Regions from separate parts of the Homo sapiens genome. Here all the other regions are linked to region 1. The links are contacts of gene promoters, found by promoter capture Hi-C in blood cells and fetal thymus (Javierre and others, 2016). All regions are on one chromosome and are shown on one strand. The core of a region is centred on a gene start or on the middle of the fragment in contact, and the rest is flanking DNA. Distances in the headings are between cores, read along the strand shown.

The links. Contacts are between HindIII fragments. The CHiCAGO score rates a contact against its expected background, and 5 or more counts as called.
Region 2: a contact is called between the fragment with the promoter of DMAP1 here and the fragment with the promoter of HECTD3 in region 1, in 5 of 17 cell types (neutrophils, activated CD4 T cells, total B cells and 2 more). The highest score is 9.4, in neutrophils.
Region 3: the fragment with the promoter of IPP here is called in contact with the fragment with the promoter of HECTD3 in region 1 in 2 of 17 cell types (neutrophils and total B cells); the score reaches 7.2 in neutrophils.
Region 4: a contact is called between the fragment with the promoter of GPBP1L1 here and the fragment with the promoter of HECTD3 in region 1, in 9 of 17 cell types (neutrophils, total CD4 T cells, activated CD4 T cells and 6 more). The highest score is 20.0, in neutrophils.
Region 5: a contact is called between the fragment with the promoter of CCDC17 here and the fragment with the promoter of HECTD3 in region 1, in 4 of 17 cell types (total CD4 T cells, neutrophils, total CD8 T cells and 1 more). The highest score is 9.6, in total CD4 T cells.

Annotation. Positions count from the first base shown.
Region 1 is chr1:45,009,779-45,012,573 of GRCh38, reverse strand. It overlaps HECTD3 (HECT domain E3 ubiquitin protein ligase 3), which reads left to right and starts at 1,250. Exons shown (of 21, transcript NM_024602.6): 1 at 1,250-1,685; 2 at 1,868-2,028; 3 at 2,281-2,373; 4 at 2,453-2,588. The coding sequence starts at 1,317. UROD (uroporphyrinogen decarboxylase) reads right to left here and starts at 320. Exons shown (of 10, transcript NM_000374.5): 1 at 289-320. The coding sequence starts at 308. RefSeq lists enhancers at 224-353, 394-443 and silencers at 1,204-1,333, 1,414-1,583. The HindIII fragment of the contact is 5,887 bases long and covers 1-1,468 here.
Region 2 is chr1:44,212,048-44,214,842 of GRCh38, reverse strand. It overlaps DMAP1 (DNA methyltransferase 1 associated protein 1), which reads right to left and starts at 1,372. Exons shown (of 10, transcript NM_019100.5): 1 at 985-1,372; 2 at 402-493; 3 at 1-140. The coding sequence starts at 1,089. RefSeq lists enhancers at 1-26, 27-528, 1,294-1,533, 1,272-1,566 and a silencer at 1,964-2,063. The HindIII fragment of the contact is 5,612 bases long and covers 1-1,818 here.
Region 3 is chr1:45,749,283-45,752,077 of GRCh38, reverse strand. It overlaps IPP (intracisternal A particle-promoted polypeptide), which reads left to right and starts at 1,425. Exons shown (of 9, transcript NM_005897.3): 1 at 1,425-1,481. LOC105378693 (a long non-coding RNA gene) reads right to left here and starts at 1,129. Exons shown (of 3, transcript XR_947290.2): 1 at 830-1,129. RefSeq lists a silencer at 1,315-1,584. The HindIII fragment of the contact is 27,355 bases long and covers 1-2,795 here.
Region 4 is chr1:45,685,067-45,687,861 of GRCh38, reverse strand. GPBP1L1 (GC-rich promoter binding protein 1 like 1) reads left to right here and starts at 1,329. Exons shown (of 13, transcript NM_021639.5): 1 at 1,329-1,450; 2 at 2,242-2,286. RefSeq lists enhancers at 689-1,018, 1,039-1,158, 1,229-1,278, 1,339-1,488, 1,115-1,713. The HindIII fragment of the contact is 19,533 bases long and covers 1-2,795 here.
Region 5 is chr1:45,622,627-45,625,421 of GRCh38, reverse strand. CCDC17 (coiled-coil domain containing 17) reads left to right here and starts at 1,368. Exons shown (of 13, transcript NM_001114938.3): 1 at 1,368-1,686; 2 at 1,770-1,865; 3 at 1,983-2,205; 4 at 2,305-2,467; 5 at 2,588-2,671; 6 at 2,755-2,795. The coding sequence starts at 1,513. The HindIII fragment of the contact is 6,664 bases long and covers 1-2,266 here.

The DNA of each region.
Region 1 (2,795 bases), core at 1-2,500:
GGGCTGGTTCAGGGGCTGAGAAATACCCAGGCTGGGGGATAAAGAGGGATCAGAGTTGATGGTCCCAGAATAGAGATCCTGGTTGGAAATCCTGAGGCATCCCTTGAATTAAGGCCCTGGGATGAACATCTCAAAAATCCATGGTTTTAGGATTCAGGATCCCAGCTAACGGAGTTCAGGTTGGGAGGTCTCCAGGGTGGGGAAAGGGGAGTAGAGGGATAGAGTCCTGAGTTGGAAGACTCAAATTAGAAGCCCGGCTAGCCACACCGCGTGCTCTGGAGAACTCACCCCAACCCATTCGCTTCCATGGTCAGCTGTCTGTAACTGCGAGCTCAATCCACAATTTAACCTGAATCTGAGCCTGCCCCCCAGTCCAGGCTCCGCCCCTTTCTGTAGGGAACCAAGAGCGTCGCCATGTTGAAGATCACATGATCGGACTCCAGCGACAGCTCCAGGGCTGCCCTGGCTGCTGCCCGTAGGACCCCTACCTTTTTTCACCGTAAAGTTTGCTGTAGCGACGCAACAACAAAGGCCCAAAAGAAAACTCCGCTGTAAATGTATCTTACGGTGACATGAGGAATTTGTTCTCATCTGACAGTCTGGGTATCCGGAGGCTTGGCGCAAGTCCCACTCATGATACCAACAGTCTTATCCAGCCAGGTCCATACTATAGCCTGGACCTATAGTAGGTGCAGAGGTTAGCTCTGCTCAAGACAGCCCCAGCCTTTAAGGAGCTACAAGACTGGGGAAACAGAAATCAGCAATCACATTAAAATGAATAATGATCTCCAGTGTCCTTGGGATTAGGAGTGACAAACAGAATCAACCCTAATGACTCAAGACTCCTGTCAGTGGCAGGGGAAGGGGCCATTGTCTCAAACACTTTAATCACACCACCCATAGGATAGGGAGTCCAGCAGATTCGCTGGGAGTGGGAGGAAAAACAGCAGGCCGAAGAACCAGAAAAATGACTGTTGGCAATGACCCAGGCTAGCTAGAATGGTGACTTGAATGAGGGTAGTAGCAGTAGAGATAAAATGGTAGTCACAAGGAAATGGAGAGAGGGAGATTGATCAGGTAGCAATCACCAATCTTGGGTTTGGTCGGCTGGGTTAGGGTGGCACAGAGATAAGTAATATGGTTGAGTGTGGGAGTACACAGTCCAATACAGTGAGAGCTGGGGTGCGCTTAGTCCAGAACATACGGCAAAGGCTGGCCAAAGGCGGGGAAGGGCGTGGTGGGAAGCTCTGTCCGCGGTCGCGCCAGCTGTTCCCCGGGCAGGGTCGCCTCTAGGTGCTCACCTCCGCCACTTCGCCATGGCGGGTCCTGGCCCGGGCGCGGTGCTGGAGTCCCCCCGGCAGCTGCTGGGCCGCGTGCGCTTCTTGGCAGAGGCAGCGCGGAGCCTCCGCGCCGGGCGGCCGCTGCCAGCAGCGCTGGCTTTCGTGCCGCGAGAGGTGCTCTACAAGCTTTACAAGGACCCAGCGGGACCGTCGCGCGTGCTTCTGCCGGTGTGGGAGGCAGAGGGCCTGGGGCTGCGTGTGGGCGCCGCAGGCCCAGCCCCCGGTACCGGCTCCGGGCCCCTCCGCGCCGCCCGCGACAGCATTGAGCTCCGGCGCGGCGCCTGCGTGCGCACCACGGGCGAGGAGCTGTGCAATGGCCACGGGCTCTGGGTGAAGCTGACAAAGGTGCGCTCTTCCCTGCCCAGGACCCGGTAAAAGACCCCTGGGGCCAGAGAAACCTCTGGCTGTTTGCCTTTTCTCCCCTGTATTGAGTTGGCATTGCGTTCGGCGCCCTTTGCCCTGGGCTGGGCACGACAGGCGGCTGGGCAGTTCCCTGACGGCTGTCCCCATCCTACGCGTCCCGGCAGGAGCAGCTGGCAGAGCACCTGGGCGACTGCGGGCTGCAGGAAGGCTGGCTGCTGGTGTGCCGCCCGGCGGAGGGCGGAGCCCGCCTGGTACCCATCGACACTCCCAACCACCTCCAGCGGCAGCAGCAGCTCTTTGGCGTGGATTATCGGCCGGTGCTCAGGTACTGCACTTGAAGGAGCGGGGCTGGCTGTCAGAAGGCCGGGCCAGGAGGGCTTGGGAACACTTCAGCCACAGCCTGGGGTGGGTGGGATACTGGAGCGGAGGCAGGGTTAAGAGCAGAAAGGGGCGGGACGTGAAGGGGGCTCGGAGGGAGACTGGGAGATAGAGCCCTGAAGAAGGCTACACGGCATGGAGGTAGTGTCTTGCTGACCGCTGATGTCTCCCCATCCCACTCCCTACTCTGTGCCCACAGGTGGGAACAGGTGGTGGACCTGACATACTCACATCGCCTGGGATCGAGACCTCAGCCGGCAGAGGCATACGCAGAAGCTGTACAAAGGCTACTGTGAGTGAGCTGGAATGGGGTGGGGAGGAAGGAGCTCTGCGTCTGGGCCCAGTCTAATTAGGGGCTTGGGGTTGCTTAGCTATGTACCCCCGACATGGACCTACGAGTGCGACGAGGACCTGATCCACTTCTTGTATGACCACCTGGGCAAGGAGGATGAGAACCTGGGTAGCGTGAAGCAGTATGTGGAGAGCATAGACGTTTCCTCCTACACGGTGGGTGCTGGGGCTCCTCCCACCCCAGGCAAGATATAGTCACACCCCTCAAGGCTAGATCCAGAAAGAACCCCCACCTGCAGGCCAGGACTAAAACAGGGTCCCCACAGGCCACACTCAGTTCAGCTCCCCATCTTGGACGTCTATAGGACCCCTTACATACCCAGCGGCCCCCTATCCCATACCAGTTGCCTGTTAGCCCAACTT
Region 2 (2,795 bases), core at 123-2,622, 800 kb after region 1:
GGAAGAACATTGCTCCGTCCTTGCGGGCCGGGTTGGTGAATGGCATCCACTTCCAAGGCCGCACCTTCTTGGAGCCCAACTTGGCCTTCACTGTACGGTATCCCTGGCCAGTGTCACTGGGTAGCAGTGGGGGTGCATCCCTGGCAGGGAGGTTTAGGGAGATGCGAGGTTAGAATCAGAAGGTGTGTTAAAGAGCTTTTTGTCCCAGGGAGCTGATCTACCCTACCCTATAGCAAGAAAGTCATGTCCTGGAGCAAAAGACTTCAGGTCCTCCTGCATCCTGCTAAGCAAGCAGGAGCCCTTGCTGGGGAGGAGAAAATTGTTAGAGAAAACTAGGAGTTAGGGGCATGGCAGGTGAATCAGGGGCCAAAACCTGGGGGACTTGGGACTCCAATACTTGCTTCTTGTCAGAGTAGAGCAAGGCATAGACTTCCCGGTGCATGCCCTCGGGCCTCTTGAAAGTCAGTGTCTCAGAGGACTTCTTGGATTTTTTCTGAGGAAGGAAACCACAGAAAGGAACCACAACCTAGACCCTTTCCTGAAAATTCTTTAGTCCAGCTCAATCCCTGAACAAAGCAGCACCTACAGGGTCAATGACAGGCAAACTGACACACTGTAAAGGCACAGAAACCCACTCCCAGGAACACCATCCTACGCCCAAATCAGAGCAGTCCCCTCCCCATCCCACCAACTCTCAGACTGTTACAATGTCTTGATCTCTCCCCAACAATATCTTGCAAAAATCACACTTGCCTGGTCCTCTCAGCTCTTAGAGGTGTCATACCCTCTTGGTCCCACCATCTCCCACGATGTCCCATCTCCTCCCTCCCATCAAGGATGACACATATTCCCTGTCCTGTTATGTCACCCCTTTTATCGCCCAACTCACTGTAAGTGTAGCACCCATCCCTTGCCCGTTGTCACTCCTCCCCATCTTCACTCCCCTACCCTCCCCTAGTCAACGCTTTCAGGTGCCCCTGCTACCTTGTCCGGGTTGATAATGTCCTTCTTGCTGATGGTCCCAGAGGCTGCATCCCCTTCTGGACCCCCGAGTTCTAGAATGTCCCGTACATCCGCGCCCGTAGCCATCGCGCCTGAGAGATGGGGGAGCCACCGGAGGTCAAGGGTCAGTGCCTGAAGAAGGACCAGGCTCAGGTCAGGGGGCGGGGCCAATCCAGACCTAAGCGGAGGCGAGTTGAAGGGGCGGGCCAAGAGGAGAAGGGTGGTCCAGGTCAGGTCGGGGATCTGCCTGTGCCCCACCGCTTGGATGTTCCTAACGGCCCCTTCAGCCACCTGGGCCCTCGCACTTCCGCACCTGGGTCCGGCAGCTGCAGCCCCCACTACCACTCCCCCGTCCCCGCAAAGCCGCGGCAGAAACTTCCGGCGGTGCTCATTCGGAACGCGGCCGACAGAAACACTTCCGGTCGGTGTTGTAGGAAACGAAGCCGACTGGCAACCGAGGGTGAAAGCTACTGGCCGTGCTGAGCTTGCCACCCTTTGGTTCTCCCGCGAGCCTGTTTTCATTGGTGCACTGCCTGCTTTCTGGCATTTTCCCTCTACGATGCTCCGTTGCGTCTCAGGCAGTGAAGAGATACCAGAACTTTGTGACTTTGGGAAGTCACTTAATTTCTCTGGACCTTTTTCTTTATTTGCCGAATGGAAATTGTAATGGCACCTGTGTAAATGAAATACCAAGAATCCTTGTAAAACATTAGCACGGTGCGTGGGACATTTACTATTTTTTTATTAAATGAGTTAATGATTTGAATTGCCCCCTCTTCATTAAGTGCTAATATGTACTAGGCACTGTGCTAAGCTTGGAGGTGAAGAGATAAACTTCAAATTGTGATAAGCTTGAAGATGAAGAAATAAAGGCAGAGCTTCCTAGGGCGGCTGCCAAAATGGAGTAAGGTGTGGGCCCTCATTTGCACCTCCTCTGATGGAGATAGCTGTGGGTTGTGGCCTCGTGGGGATTTCCTGGAGGCCAGCTTCGTGGCACTTCACTAGTACAGGAGCTAGCTGCACTCTTTGGGCTACGAAGAAGCCCAAAACACAGCCCCAAGCAGGAACCAGCTTAGAAGTATCCCTCAAGGGAATAAACCTGGGGATCTTCCTGGAAAGAGAGAGACAGGAGGTCCTGAGGAAGGGCACAAGGGACAAGGAAAGCAGCTCCCAGCTTCAGCAGTCTGCAAACCAGCCTGTCAATTTGAAGGACACATAGCCTGTGGGATAGGGTGGGGCTTGTTAAGGCATTAAGAAGGCCAGACCCCAAGTCGAGACCTGCCAAAGATACCAGCAGGGACTAGAGGAGCAGACAGTTTGCGCAAGTTAGCTATAAGTGGTGTAGCCTGTTCTGGCCTGGAGAAGACAAGGGGATACAACAGCTGTAGCCACAAGCCTGACTAGTCCCCAAAACTTTGGAGAACTAGGCCTGGAGGTACAAACCTGTTCCTGGGTCTGATTCCTGGATGGATCCACTGAGCTCCAAACAGTTGCCGGAGGAAGTCACAGTCTTACAGCAGAAATTGTCCACAGGGTAAGGAAATGGTCCTTGGAGCCAGAAAGGGAGAGAGCAATTGGCTGCCTGAAACACTTGACCCTAGTTGTAGTTAATTAATTGTGTAATTACTTGTTTAATATATATCTCTAATAGACTCATTTCTGTGAAGACAGGGATCACAGTACATAAAGGAATGTATGTGCCAGGCACTATTCTAGACTCTGGGCATGCAGTGGGTGAACGAGATACAAATAGCTACTGGTGGAGCTTATATTTAGTGGAGAAGGAGAAACAC
Region 3 (2,795 bases), core at 176-2,675, 740 kb before region 1:
GCTCCCTATGGATGCAAATCCGTCCAGCCTTACACTGAAAGGGCACACAGAATTCTCTTTTCCTCATTTCCAAGTCTTTGACAATGTTTGCTGACAATAGGTCCCTGTTAGCAGTTTTTGGTAATGAAGTAGAAAAGAAGAAATAAAAATTTAGTGCACTGCGGGTCGTAAGTGTAAACATAGTTTTGTGAAGATTTTGTTTCAGGCCAGGCACAGTGGCTCACACCTCCCAGCACTTTGGGAGGCCGAGGCGGGCGGATCACTCGAGCCCAGGAGTTGGAGACCAGCCTGGTCAACATGGCGAAATCTTGTCTCTACTAAAAATACAAAAAATTAGCCTGGCGGTGGTGGCACAGGCCTGTAGTCCCAGCTACTCAGGAGGCTGAGGTGGGAGGACTACCAGAGCCCAGGAAGTCGAGGCTGCAGTGAGCCGAGATGGCACCACTGCACTCCAGCCTGGGCGACAAAGCCAGGCCCTGTCTCATAAAAAGAGAAAGAAATACACTTTGGGAGGCCGAGTCGGGCGGATCACCTGAGGTGGGGAGTTTGAGACCAGCCTGACCAACATGGAGAAACTCAGTCTGTACTAAAAATACAAAATTAGCCGGGCATGGTGGCGCATGCCTGCAATCCCAGCTACTTGAGAGGCTGAGGCAGGAGAATCGCTTGAACCCAGGAGGCGGAGGTTGCGGTGAGCCGAGATCCGGCCATTGCATTCATTCTAGCCTGGGCAACAAGAGCGAAATTCCGTCTCAAAAAATAAAAAATAAAAATAAAAATAAAGAAATGAGATTTTATGTTAGATATATACTTCTATATATATACTCACAAGTATGTGGTATTGAGTTTGATGTAAAATATTTTTGTTCACCGTAGGCTGGGATCAAAACAGTTTGAAAGCCACTAATGTGACACATGAGGGTCAACAGTGAAAAAAACTGGACTTTTGAGTTCTTCCTTCCCCAAAATAAGTATCCCTTCAGTGCCAGGCTCAGTCATGCACTCAGAAAACGATTCGAGAGAACAGTAGAGAAGGACCGTGCCAGGTGTTCGGCTCGTCTCTGCTTAACTGAGATCCGCGGCCTTCTTGGGACACCACAAGAATCAGAGTGCAAGCGGAATGGAAAGGGCGAGCCAGCCGGCCCCAGCAGGCAGAAGCAGAGGCTTGCAGCTAAGCTGTTGATCCTTGGGGAAGCAAGCCCAAGCCCTGGGCCCCATCAGTGGGCACTGAGAGGCGCCAGCGGCCCAGTCTCCCGCGAGCGGAAGAACCTCGCGCACGCGCAGTGAAAACCCAGGGCCCGCGAAGCGTCCGAAGTCCCTTCCCACCGCCCGGCTTCGCCTCCAGTTCTCGGGGAACTGTACGGCCCAGTCACTCCCGCCTCGTCACCCCCGCCAGGTTTCCCCCGCCCTCTCCGGCCGGGGCTGGTCGCGACTGCGCGCGCAGGGCCTGAGCGGGCGCCGGAGGGAAGGGGAAGCGGCGGGTAAGGAGGGCCTGCGTTCGGGCGCGTCTGTGACGGGGTTGGGAACTTCCTCTTCTACTCCCTCCGGCTTTCCGGACCCCTGAGGACTGGAGTGAGAGAAGCCTCTAGAACTGTGTATTTCCTTGTCTTTCCTTCTGCCGCCGCAGGCCTTCCTCCGACAGTCTAAGTGTCGCCCTCCCCAGACCTTCTCGTCCGGACCGCTCCTGCCTCCCCCGCCCCAACTGGGGAATCCTGAGGCTGTGTCCCCAGTCCCTCTGTTGTCGCCTCGTTTGTCTGAGATCCCTTCCCTGACCTTTAGGTAGCGCAGGAACGATTATTAGCTTTTAGTGTAGCAGCAGTTTAGGGCTAGCTCTCTAGGCCGGGCCCCCAACTCAAGCACAAAGAACCACGGGTGTTTTGACACTTGTTCCGGGGATTCTTTCTGACACCCCTTTGCTGAAGCAGTTTCCACATGTTCCCAGCAGTGAATTCAAAGCCAGCAAACATAGGTCCGCTTTAGTTCCTCTGGGCATTTCTACCGTTTCCTAATAATCTGCTTTTTTTTTTGAGACAGTCTCGCCCCTTCTCCTAGGCTGGAATGCAGTGGTGCGATCACAACTCACTGCAGCCTCGACTTCTCAGGCTCTAGCGATCCTCTCACCTCAGCCTCCCAAGTAGCCGGAAGTACAGGCTTGCCCCATCACAGCCAGCTAATGTTAAAACAATTTTTTTTGCGGCGGGGGGCTCGCTGTATTGCCCAGGCTGGTCTTGAACTCTAGGACTCAAGCGATCCTCCCTGGCCGGGCGCGGTGGCTCACGCCTGTAATCCCAGCACTTTGGGAGGCCGAGGCGGGCGGATCACGAGGTCAGGAGATCGAGACCATCCTGGCTAACACGGTGAAACCCCGTCTCTACTAAAAATGCAAAAAATTAGCCGGGCGTGGTGGCGGGCGCCTGTAGTCCCAGCTGCTCGGGAGGCTGAGGCAGGAGAATGGCGTGAACCCGGGAGGCGGAGCTTGCAGTGAGCCGAGATCGTGCCACTGCACTCCAGCCTGGGCGACAGAGCGAGACTCCGTCTCAAAAAAAAAAAAACAAAAAACAAAAACAAAACAAAAAAAAAAAACAAAAAATCAAGCGATCCTCCCGACAGGACATCCCAAAGTGCTGGGGTTATAGGTGTGAGCCACCTTGCCCAGTCAACAATCTGCTTTTCAAGTTTGGGGCACGTGAGGCATGCAACGTCACAGAATTGTGCTCTTTTCCTTTGGAAATATGGTCACTCCACATGCCACCTTTTGGGATGACGTTCCTACTCCACTGACAGTGGGATGGTAT
Region 4 (2,795 bases), core at 80-2,579, 680 kb before region 1:
TTGCAAAACAGGGTTTATAAGGCCTATGGGGACACATCTCACTGCATTAGGGCCCTTTACTATCATTTAGAGGGGGAAAAAAGCCCAGTTCTTACATCCATTTTCTTTGCTGGGACCTATAAACTTCATTAAGGGTTAAAGAGCACAAGAGCAGGATTTTCACTTCCATGAAAGGTGTGGTGATAAGGGCCCTAGGCTTGGGGGTGGTTCGGAAAGTCAGATCATTTCTCCTACTGCCCTCGGCTTTATTTCTCGGCTATGTGACCTTGGGCAAGTCCCTTCTCTTATCTAGACTTGTTTCACAGGAAATGGCACCAGGCAATTTTAGTGCCCTTCCGTGTCTATGGATAAAACTGAAGACATGTAGTAGGAGATCTCAGGGGCCCACGCCGGCCAGTCCCTCCAATCCTCCGGATTCTAGGTAGTCTAGCTTCCTGGTTGCCAGCCATTACACGGTTTAGCTTTCCGTGCCGGATGGAGCCACAGCGAAGTCTTCCTTAATAGTAAGCGCTTTTAGTCGAGCTAGGCCTTCAGTTTTATTGCCTTCTCTGTCATGGCAGCGCCGCCCCTTCCAGTAGTGCGATACCCAATGAGACTTCAGGTAGGAGAAACGGCACTGTCGCAAGCGCAGGCTCTCGCCGGAATCCCGCCCTTCGCTTGGGCGGGGGAGTGACGCCTGCGCTCCAGGGGAACTACTACTCCCAGCGGGTAGCGCGGCCGACGCAGCCGCGCAGCCTCCGGGGCCAGGCCGTGTGGCCCGCTGGGGACTGGAGTCTCAACGACGCGCACACGAGAAGTAAGGAGCGGAAGGTGGGAAAGGGCCGGAAAACACACGTTCCTCCGAAACCGGTTTGCAAGTCCTTGTAGAGGTAGTTTCGGGACGCGCACTGGCCAAGGGGCGGGCTGTGGGAGGGTGAAGAAAAAAGGGATACACACATGCATACCCACCCACTCATTCATACGCGCCCAGGCCCTGGAAGTGGGCAAGGGGGTTAGAAGGGGCGTACTAAACTAGGCTTGTCCGTGCCTCAGGCGGCACGAGGAAAGGCAGAGGATTCAATTCTGTAGGGGGCAGAGGTGACCATGCGCCGCCTCAAGCGGCGAAGAAGGGAGCCGGGGGCGGGGCAGGGCATAACCGCCGTTCTGGAGGCCGAACGTTGGCAGCGTAGGGAACTGGCGTCCGGGAGGGTCGCCGGAGCAGTCCCTTGCGCATGCGCTTCTTCAGGTGGGCGTGTGTAAGGCGGGGTCGGACGGGGGATGGGAGGGCCGTGCTGCTGGTCGCTCCTCCTCCTCCACCCGCTCTGCCCCTCCTGGACCTTGTGGGCCGGGCAGCCATTTTGGGAAGAGCTTTGTTATGGTTGTGGACTAGCCGCCTCTGCCGGGTCGACAAGCTGGGGACGCGTCCTCAGACGCAGCGTCTAGTCCCTGGCCATAGCTCCGCCGCTGCCCGGTGAGTGGGAGTTTGGGAAACGGGGCAGTAGGAGATCCTGGAGTCGTTCTGGCGCGGGGCTCCGCCCGGTGCCTAACCAACGGGCTGTTAAAACTAGTTGAAAGAAGCTCTCACACAGGTGGTTGGGTATAGGTCCGACCCGAGAGGGGCGAGCGGAGCCCACGGGTCAAGTGGTTCGGATGCGGCACCCCCGCCTCCCCCGTGCATGGAGCTTTGCACGCGAGCGTCGCCGGGGCTCCGCGAAAGCGCTCCTACTTTAACTTCGGTCGTCGGGTCGGAACGCTCACCTGCGGCTCTTTGGCTCCTCTCCAGGCGATCCGGCTTGGTGCTCGTTGAGTGACTTGGCTTACGGGTTTTTTTCTTTCCTTCTTGAAATGAGAGCTAAGGGCTTTTGTTTTCCTTCAAAGGAAAACCTAAGGAGGAAAAAGTGTAAGTCAAATGTTGGATATCTGAGGGGAAAAAAGTTTTAACCCCCAGCTTTCCGGTTCTCTGTGGTAGCGAGGTGTTTTCGCTTAGATTGAGTCTATCCGATATCTACCAACCTCCTTTCCTTGGAGGGGCAGGGAAAGCTGGTCGATCCTGAAATGTTTTAAGTGTTATTTTTTTTCTGTTGTTTTAAATCTAGTTCTCCCCAACCCGTGAAATTCGAAAGACAGTCTGAATCCAAAATGGCTGTAGCTTGGGGAAGTGCCCTGCCCTTCGATTACTTAAATACATTAACGTTTAAAGATTTTAGTCCTTTCCCCTGTGGGGACATTAACTGAATCTTTTGATATTTTGGTTTTTTGCAGTTGGTGTCTCACCTTTAACTCTCCTTATGCTGGGTGAAAACAAAGGTGAGGCTCACAAAGTTGACTATTCCAAAAGTTTACATAAGAATGGGTGCGGTGCGGTGGTGTGTGTGTTTAATAGTTGCTTATAGTTTTGAAATTGTGCTGTGGTGTCAATTTTATCTGCCAACTTCGTGCTCTGAAGTTGGCTTGTCATATTTGTTGAAATATTTTTAACATTGACATTTATTGCTTACCAGAAAAATACAGTTAATAATAGTGGTTCATGTTTTAGTTTAGTAGTAAGTCGTGTTCTTGTGTAAATCTTATCCAAAAGTAAAGTGATTGGTAGTCACTCCTCATTAGACTTATATTTGTAATTTAGTAGACTGCTGATCTTTTCTAAGGTCTTTTTTATCCAATATTTGAAAGGAAATTAGGGTGCTATTAAGTTTGAGATATTTACTAGAATAGTGTAAGACATTTTAACAAGTGAAAACATACTTTAGGTATGGAGTACCTGATTGTCGTGCCCTTTTGAACAAGAGACTGTCTTTTGTTTGCTTTTTTTTTTT
Region 5 (2,795 bases), core at 119-2,618, 610 kb before region 1:
GATCAAGACCATCCTGGCTGACACGGTGAAACCCCATCTCTACTAAAAATACAAAAAAAATTAGCCGGGCACAGTGGTGGGCACCTGTAGTCTCAGCTACTCGGGAGGCTGAGGCAGGAGAATGGCTTGAACCCGGAAGGCGGAGCTTGCAGTGAGCCCAGATAGTGCCACTGCACTTCGGCCTGGGCGAAAGAGCGAGACTCCGTCTAAAAAAAAAAAAAAAAAAAAGCCGGGTGTGGTGGCAGGTGCCTGTAGTCCCAGCTACTGGGGAGGCTGAGGCAGGAGAATGGTGTCAACCTGGGAGGCAGAGCTTGCAGTGAGCCGAGATCGTGCCATTGCACTGTAGCCTGGGCAACAGAGCGAGACTGTCTCAAAAAAAGAAGAGAAAAGGGTGTTTCTTGGCCGGGCGCAGTGCCTTACGCCTGTAATCCCAGCACTTTGGGAGGCCAAGGCGGGCAGATCACGAGGTCAGGAGATCAAGACCATCCTGGCTAACATGGTGAAACCCCGTCTCTACTAAAAAATACAAAAAATGAGCCAAGCGTGGTGGTGGGCACCTGTAGTCTCAGCTACTTGGGAGGCTGAGGCAGGAGAATGGCGTGAACCCAGGAGGCAGAGCTCATTGCAGTGAGCTGAGATCGCGCCACTGCACTTCGGCCTGGGCGACAGCGAGACTCCATCTCAAAAAGAAAAAAAAAAAAGTAAAGAGGGTTTCTTAAGAAATATGCGGTCACCTCAGAGCTCCTCCATATATTTTGGGAGTGGGAGTGGAGTGAAGAATTTCACCAACAGTTCAGGGTCTTTCTGGCTTCTGGCCAATCTTGGGAGAGAGAAGGGGTTTTTTTCTGGACTTGATTCCCTCATCTGATAGATTCATTCTGTTCGCCCACAGCTTTCATTTCTTGGGCTGTGCTGATTATCTTCGTCTACAGCTGAAAAATGAGGAATCAGGGAATGGGAGTTAGGGAGACTGCTATCCCTGGTGCGACATGGTTTCCAGGCAGAATGCTGGAAAGGTCAGAGTGCCTCCTTTGCCAGGTAGTTCTCTGGATTGGAGAATGGTACAAACTGTTACATCCACTTGGGAGTACAGCAATGAAAAAGATGACACTTGCCTTTTAGAGGCTATTAAATGACCAATGATGTAGTAAGTGATAAGGGCCCAGCCTAGTCTAGGAGGCAGCTGCTTTTTCCTCTTTATTAATAGTCAGGGAAACCAAGCTACAATTAGAGACTTGCCCACGTTCAGACTTTGTAACACTTTTTCAAGCCAGTGGCTCCTCCCAAACGGCCGAGGTTTCCCCACCCATTCTCCTGACCTGCCCAGCCCTGTGGTTGCTGTCCAGGGAGCTAAGGCTCTCCCCAAACAAACTTGAAGATCTCACAGACCTAATAGACACGGCCTTTCCTCTCTGCCTCTGGCTTTATGTCTCTTTCATCCTCCTCTGCCTTTCCCCTGCCCTTGATCCCTTCTGCAGGTCTTGGCTGGTTTCAGGAAACGGGTCCCATCCCATGGACTCCCACTCTGGGGAGCCTGCGCTCCTGCCCTGTGGGACCTGTGACATGGTTTTCCGCTCCTCAGCTCTGTTAGCCACCCATACTCAGCGCTTCTGCATTGGCCACCCGACCCAAGAGATGACATTTGGAGCACAGGCATCAGTTGCCACTGAACCCCAGCGGGCCGCGGTAAGGGCCTCCATGGCCATGGGTGGGGATTCAAAGGAGCCAGGACCTTTATGATTCCTCATCCTACTACACCCTATCCCCAGGTTGTGCCACAAGAACACCAGGGCGTGCCACAAGAACCCCAGGGCCTCCCAGACCAGCAGGCCAGTAGATCTGCTCTAAAGAGGTTAACAGAGGAGGTAGAGCTACCTACCTTCCCCCAGGGCTCAAAACGTTGAGCGTCTTCCCCAAACCTGTAGATCATACTTGGGACAGATTCTGCCCACGCAGAGATCGCGGATCGCTGTTACCTCCAGGTGCAGTGGCTGCGGCTATCCCTACAGGAAATGCGGCCCTGGATAACAGAGGTCCCCAGGGTGTTCGCGGGGCCCTGGACACGTTCCGAGGCGCGGCCTCAGAGTCCCATGTCCGAGGCGGTGGGAAGCCCCAGCGAGCGGCTGCGGGCGCTGTTCAGGACTCGCGCGAGGCGCGTGGCGGAGATGGAAGCGCAGAGCCGGGCCCTGCAGCTACGCGGCGAGGGTGAAGGAGATGGGGGACGGGGACCAAGGACCTCCTCTGCCCTCGCCGTTTGGCTTAAGCTTGCTCGGGCCGGTTCTGACTCGGCCCGCATTCCCTCAGAACTGAGCCGACGCCTCCAAGTTGTGGCCTGTACGCGGGGCGGGATGTCCCGCCTCTTCGGCCTGGAGCAGGAGATTCGAGAACTACAAGCTGAGGCCGGGAGGACGCGGGGAGCTCTAGAGGTGTTGGGGGCCCGCATTCAGGAGCTGCAGGCGGAGCCAGGGTGAGACCCGACTAAGCGGATCCCCGGAACATGCGGCTCCGGGGTGGGAGGGGCGGGCTGGCTGCAGCCCCGGGGCCTCTGATGCGTTACCGTCTCCCTGCGCGTCGCCTGCCACCCCAGGAACCCGCTGAGCTCCCGGCGAGAGGCAGAACTTTATTCTCCAGTGCAAAAGGCCAACCCGGGAACTCTGGCTGCCGAAATCCGGTGAGAGCCGGGGCCGGAGATGGGCATAGGGCGAAGCGCTGAGCAGTTCTGGAAAGACGGCCTTCCTGTTCCCCACTCCCTAGGGCGCTGCGGGAGGCCTACATTCGAGACGGGGGCCGGGACC